2 separate regions of the Homo sapiens genome follow, and region 2 is linked to region 1. Evidence: promoter capture Hi-C in 16 types of primary human blood cells and fetal thymus (Javierre and others, 2016). All regions are on one chromosome and are shown on one strand. Each heading gives the region's core, a stretch centred on a gene start or on the middle of the fragment in contact. The rest is flanking DNA. Distances are from core to core; before and after follow the strand shown.

Region 1 (3,235 bases), core at 549-3,048:
TATCTATGCAGTGAGGATTAAGTGGGATTATGGAGTGTTTAAAGTGCCTAGCAGGGAGTAGGCACTTAGAAAATGTTGGTTCTTTCCACCTTGTGTTCTTCTGCTTCAGATCTCTTAATTTCTACAACTCTAAATGTGCTATTTTCCTCTCTCAGTAAATAATACTACCATCTCACCAGTTTAAATAAAAAAAGCTATGAGTCCCCTTCGAATAATCTATTTCTTTCACAATCTAAATTTAATCCATCTGCAAATCCTATTTGTTCTAACTCAACACATATCCTCAGTCTCTCTGCTTCTCCCCATTGACACTGCTACAACCCTAGTCCAAGAATCTTATCTGTACTGTTGCCATAGGTCCTGAATTCATCCTTCTGCCTCCACTCTGGTCTTCTTTCAGCCTGTTTTCCACAGAGCCTAAGTGATATTTAAAACATAAACCAGATAATATCAGTCCCCTGCTTAAAACCCTCCAGTGGCGTTTCATCATATTCAGAATGAGATCCAACTCTTACCCTCTCCTAACACTCCCGCTCTTATGCTTCAGCGGCACTGCCCTTTTTTCTTTTTCTGCTAACTCATCAAACTCATGGCTGCCTCCGGCCTTAGCACTTGCTATTCTCTCTGCTTGGAATACTCATTCCCCAGATGTCCACGTGACTTACTGCTTCTTGTCATTTAGATCTCAACTCTAATTGTCCCCTGACTTCTATCAGTAGTGCTCCATCACACCATCTTACTTTTCCTAAGGCTTACCACTATCTGAAAATAGCCTGCGTTTCTCTATTTTCCCCTCAGTAAGAATTAAAAGTTCATACTAGGGCCCATTTCCTAGCAGTGTTTGGCACATAGTAAGTATGCTGAAAAAAAAAAACCTTGACTGACTGAATAAATGAACAAATAAACTCACTTTTAATGAGATATCAAGGTTTTATATTAATTACATGAGCCAAGAATTGTGGTTTCATTTTTAAAATGTGAGGACCTACTGGTTTAATCCTTCATACTTCACACATATGCTTGTGCTGGAACTATGACTGTAAATCAATAGCAATACCATCCTCTGTTTTGGCTTCTTCCCCTAACCTAAATAGTTCTCAGATTTACTTTTCTCTCCATCTCCACTGCCACACTGTCACCTTAGTGCAAATGACCATCCTCTCTGGCCTTTTTTCTGTAAGGTTTTAATCTCCCAATATGTATTCTCCAGACTGCAGGCCAGTGAGCTTTTCAGTTGCTGTTACACCCATGCTTGAAAACCCTTTAAGTTTTCATTGTTCTCAAGATAAAGACCAGAATGTGGTCTGGTCCACCACCTCACGTCAGGCCAGCCCTCACTCTCCACTCCAGGCCACACTTTCTCCTCCCCTCCTGGTTCCCGCCTGCCAACTGGCTGGGTAGCCGTTGCTTCCCGCTTCCTGCAAAGTTCTACATCGCACCCATTTCGCCCACTTCTTCAGATTTCAGGAGATTGTTCCTTCCTCGAGGAAGCCCTCCCTGATTAGGCCAAGCGCCACTCCACGTCATACAGCCCCACATCACCATGGGCCTCTCTTTCAGGGCTTTGTTTTATGAGTATGCAATCCAGAATATGACAATCTTATTGACATGCGTCAACGCGAGCTTGCGCTCAATAGCTATTTGCCGAAGGAATATACGGACTAGCGGCCCGACCACTCCTCGCCCCTCCCCTACCACTGCCGCGCACATATTACGCATTAAGCAGGCGCCGCGAGTACGGACATCGCGAGCGCCTGCGCGAAGGGCTACGCATGCGCAGAGGGGCCAGCCCGCTGACAGATTCTCGGTGGCGGCGGCAGCGGCGGCGGCCCTGGACTGCGGGGAATGGGAATCCTAGGTCCCTGACTGAGCACCTCCCCCGCCTCCCTGCCCCCGACATGGCTCAGGAGAAGATGGAGCTAGACCTGGAGCTGCCTCCGGGTACGGGCGGGAGCCCGGCGGAGGGCGGTGGCAGCGGCGGCGGCGGGGGCCTCAGGAGGTCTAACAGCGCCCCCCTGATCCACGGCCTCAGTGACACTTCGCCGGTGTTCCAGGCCGAGGCGCCGAGCGCCAGGCGGAACAGCACAACGTTCCCGAGCCGCCACGGCCTGCTGCTGCCGGCCTCCCCTGTCCGCATGCACAGCAGCCGCTTGCACCAGATCAAACAAGAAGAGGGCATGGACTTGATCAACCGAGAGACGGTCCACGAACGGGAGGTGCAGACCGCAATGCAGATAAGCCACTCCTGGGAGGAAAGTTTCAGCCTGAGTGACAACGACGTGGAGAAATCCGCCTCCCCCAAGCGCATCGATTTCATTCCTGTGTCACCAGCACCGTCACCCACTCGGGGAATTGGGAAGCAGTGTTTTTCGCCATCCTTGCAAAGTTTTGTAAGTAGCAACGGATTGCCTCCAAGCCCTATTCCCAGCCCAACGACCCGATTTACCACCCGGAGAAGCCAGAGCCCCATCAATTGCATTAGACCAAGTGTTCTTGGACCATTGAAAAGAAAATGTGAAATGGAAACTGAATATCAGCCAAAGAGATTTTTCCAGGGCATCACCAACATGCTTTCTTCTGACGTTGCACAGCTGTCAGATCCTGGTGTGTGTGTATCTTCGGATACCCTTGATGGAAACAGCAGCAGTGCCGGATCTTCTTGTAACTCACCAGCGAAAGTCAGCACTACCACCGACTCTCCTGTGTCACCTGCCCAAGCGGCTTCTCCATTTATTCCACTAGATGAACTTTCGTCTAAGTGATTCACTCATCCTGAGACTTTCTTTTTGCAGTGGAGAGAGAGAATAATCTAGTTGGGGCAAACACTGAACTTTGTCAATTAATTTGAGGCTATTTCCTATTTGACCCCTTTTCTTTTTTGAAATTCCCTGAAATGATGTTATTCTAGAGAACTTCTATGTCAGGTTCCTTTGGATACCCTTGAATTCAGTGTAGTAATATTTTCAGACGTTTCCCCAATAAGTGTGTTGAAGCATACATCTTTACGCTGCTAATATGTCTAAATACATATGTTATCCCTTGATTTTTTTAAATAACTGAGAGCTCTATTTATTTATGGGATTATTAAGTTCTGATGAAAATATAAATGTTGACTTAATCAGCATAGTAAACTGATGTTTAAAATTCCATACTTCATGCCCACACTAATTTTTAATGTTATTTTCAGTGGTTGCCGATTTCCATTTGATGAAGAACTATACAGCTTAAAAAAATA
Region 2 (3,235 bases), core at 1-2,500, 44 kb after region 1:
TTGCTGTTTGGCACGTGAATATTATCAAAGGCCTTTCCTTCTCCCAAGCAGTTGTAAGTTACTATCTTAGTTTCCAGTTGCTGCTATAACTAATTACTGCAAATTTAGTGGCTTAGACAACATACATGCATTATCTTATAGTTCAGTGAGTCAGAAGCCTGACATGGGTCTCCCTGGGCTGAGATCCATGTGTTTGCAGAGCTGTATTCCTTCCTGGACACTCCAGGGGAGAGTCCACTTCCTTGTCTTTTCCGGCTTCTAGAGGCTCCCTGCGTGCCCTGTGTCATGGCTCCCTGCCATCTTCAAAGCCAGCAATGGCCGGTGGCGTCTTTCCCAGGCTGTATCACTCTGACACTTTAAAGGGCCTGTGTGATTGCATTGAGCCCTCCTAGGCTCACAGAAATATGGGAAAATATTAATAAAAATTAATATTCTTTATCTAAAAGGTCAGCTGATTAGCAACGTTAATTTCCTCTGCAACTTGAATTCATTTTTGCCTTAGAAGGTGACATATTCACAGGTCCCAAGGATTAGAGCATGGGAATCTTTGGGGGTCAATTCACCATAATATAGAATATTGAGTGAAGAGAGTTGTTTGAAGACCCTTCTTATTCCTAAGAAGAAGGCTCCTGAGGGCATGCAGTGTTCTGTGTATAATATATGAATCCTTTAATGGACTCACTACTTTCCACCAACATTTAAAACATTTCCTACCTTTGTATTTTAAAACTTTTAAAATGTGAGATGCTCCTCTTCCCCACCTTTTCTAAGCCGCTCAGATTTTATGTCTTCAGCCCATTTCACAAAAAGTCTTTTTCCAGACTTCCTAATGTATCTTAACTTACCAGTCTTTGATAAATTCTCGACTCCCAGCTACCAAGCTAATGTTCAAACACGTTACTGGGTAAAATATGTTCCCAAGCACCTCTACTCCTGATTATAAATTGACTATACATTTTAGCTTTTCAAAGTTCTTGCTATTTTGCCCTCTTAAGAGTAGGAGGTTTGTGTATTGAAGGTTTATTATTTCTTAATTTTTCCTTTTATACTTTGATGGACAGCCTGCAAGACGTTTAGTCATAAAGTACATGAGCTATGGGCTCTGACCACATATTCAGGTCATGGAACTAGCATGATGTATTTTCTATTCCATTTTCATATGGGAGAATGTGCCCTTTTTCCTGGCATATCTTCTTTATCTGATTTTTCCACTCAGCCAAACCTTGAAATACAAACTGGGAGGTTGTCATTCAAAGTGATGGTGTGGTTGGAAAAGAGTTGGGTAAAGATTCAAGAGCTCAGAAGTGCCGCAGTATATTTTATAAAATTTGTACATTGGGCCAGAGGCAACAATACACTATTATTTATTTTTAGACACAAGTGAAAAACCAAATCCTGTCTCGTTTACCCAAGATTCCGTGTACATTCATTCAAGCATGGACCAACACAGAGATGATTACGTTGCTAGCCTGTTATTACTTCAGATCAGTTTCAGGTGGTATTCTCAATCAGCATCAAGATGCACTGAAATTCTTGACCAAATTCTGACTCACAGGAGATCCTTTGTCGCTGCAAAAGTTATAGAAAAAATGTGACCATGACATCTCAGAGTTTGCTAAGTGTACCCTGCCCAAGAATTTATTTAGTCAAGCAGGTTTTCAATAATTAGTATAGGTAATTCTATGATTAATGTCTCCAGTAGGATATTTAACTCAGCAATGTTTTTTAGGTTGTAAAAACTAAAAATCAAATTCTATGGTAGGAGAAATAAGGAAAGACACAGAAAACCTAAGGGGACCAGAAATTTTTTTTAATGAACAATTTTTTATGTGTAATAATATCAGGATCTTATTAATGATTTCTGGTTTTAAAAAGTATAAGCAATGGAAGGAGATGTACGTAGCCTCTCTTAAAAAGCACCAAGAAGACCAGCACAGCACTTAGAACTTCAGCCCTTAATAAATATGGTATTGATATGAATAGCAAGAAGAAGGAATCGCTTAGAGAGAGTGTTGTTTTACTGGCAGGTAAAAGCTCAGCTGAATTATTCGGTTTAGTTCTCTGATCTTCAAACTAGAGAAGGTGTTCATGGTGGACTTAGGAGTTAGCTATTGCAAATGTGTTTATCTCCAGGTCCAGATAAACCATTTCCCAGATGAAAGAACTTAAAGCTAGAATAGGAAAACCTCTGAATGTGAGCTTTAAATGAATTTCAGAATGGGAAAATTGTCAGAAAACAGGACATAAGCAAATATTATTCTTATTTTCAAAAATGAGGAAGAGTACATTCTGGAAACCAGATTATAAGTGAGACATTATTCCCCAGTATAATTTGAGCATTATTATTAAACATATGGTTTATACATATTTAGAGAAGAAACATATCTTTTACAAACCTGGAGAAATTCATAAAGATGTAGTTTATTTCAAACTAACTGCATTTCCTATTTTGAGAGAGTCATTAAATTACTCATAAAGAGTATGTTCAAATTTAATGAGTCTTGATTTAAAGGTGTCTAAAAGATTCGCTAGTCTCCTTTCAGACAAGGTGGATAAGTATGGGTTAAATATTATGTTTATTGTGTTTGTATCTGGTTGGACTGATGGTCTCGAAAACTGGCAATTTTGCTCCCTGTTCACTCGGTTTCCACCAGCATGATGCATGAGTTGGCCCTGGGTAGCTTACCATGTTCACCCATGACCTTAATGAAAGCATAAAAGCAGTGCTTTGCAAATGCAAATGACAAAAAAATTGTAAATGATAGCAAACAGACTACACAAGTGTTGTCAAGGCCACCATACATCTTATTCCCTTTACAAATACCTTAAATTTCTTTCCCAGTCCTGAAGCCCTGATCATAAGGTATGCACAGATTTACTAAGAAGCTTTGATGACCCATTGTGTTTTTGCATTGACTGAAGCCAGTCCATGGATCCCAGGTTAAGGCCCCTGGTCCTTTATGCTAGGAGTGAGAAATATACCACAGGAGTTTATAAGTAGCTCACAGTGGAGTGGGAGAGGCAAGACATGAAAACAGTTTTAGAACACAGTAGTCTATAATGAGGAGTTCAAAAGGGAAGAAACCAATGTTGTTAGAATTAAGCAGCAGGTTTAGGCTTTCTGTATGGAGCCCCAGATTTACTGGGCAGCTGCCAGTAACATTCAGCGTCATGAGTGCTATGATTTCCACGTGTTATTAGGGAACACTCAGTGTTCATGGGACAACTTTACACT

The links. The method cuts DNA at HindIII sites, captures the fragments that hold promoters and counts their contacts. A CHiCAGO score of 5 or more calls a contact.
Region 2: a fragment that was not itself captured here is called in contact with the fragment with the promoter of PABIR1 in region 1 in 3 of 17 cell types (naive B cells, neutrophils and total B cells); the score reaches 6.5 in naive B cells.

The regions. Positions count from the first base shown.
Region 1 is chr9:68,778,267-68,781,501 of GRCh38, forward strand. It overlaps PABIR1 (PP2A Aalpha (PPP2R1A) and B55A (PPP2R2A) interacting phosphatase regulator 1), which reads left to right and starts at 1,799. Exons shown (of 1, transcript NM_138333.5): 1 at 1,799-3,235. The coding sequence starts at 1,899. The coding sequence ends at 2,762. The region is part of intron 2 of PIP5K1B (phosphatidylinositol-4-phosphate 5-kinase type 1 beta); the gene reads left to right. RefSeq lists silencers at 1,288-1,702, 1,820-2,059 and an enhancer at 1,707-2,535. The HindIII fragment of the contact is 10,001 bases long and covers 1-3,235 here.
Region 2 is chr9:68,822,722-68,825,956 of GRCh38, forward strand. The region is part of intron 4 of PIP5K1B (phosphatidylinositol-4-phosphate 5-kinase type 1 beta); the gene reads left to right. Among named protein-coding and RNA genes, the nearest start is that of PABIR1, 44 kb to the left of the region's middle. RefSeq lists an enhancer at 2,794-3,235. The HindIII fragment of the contact is 3,268 bases long and covers 1-2,884 here.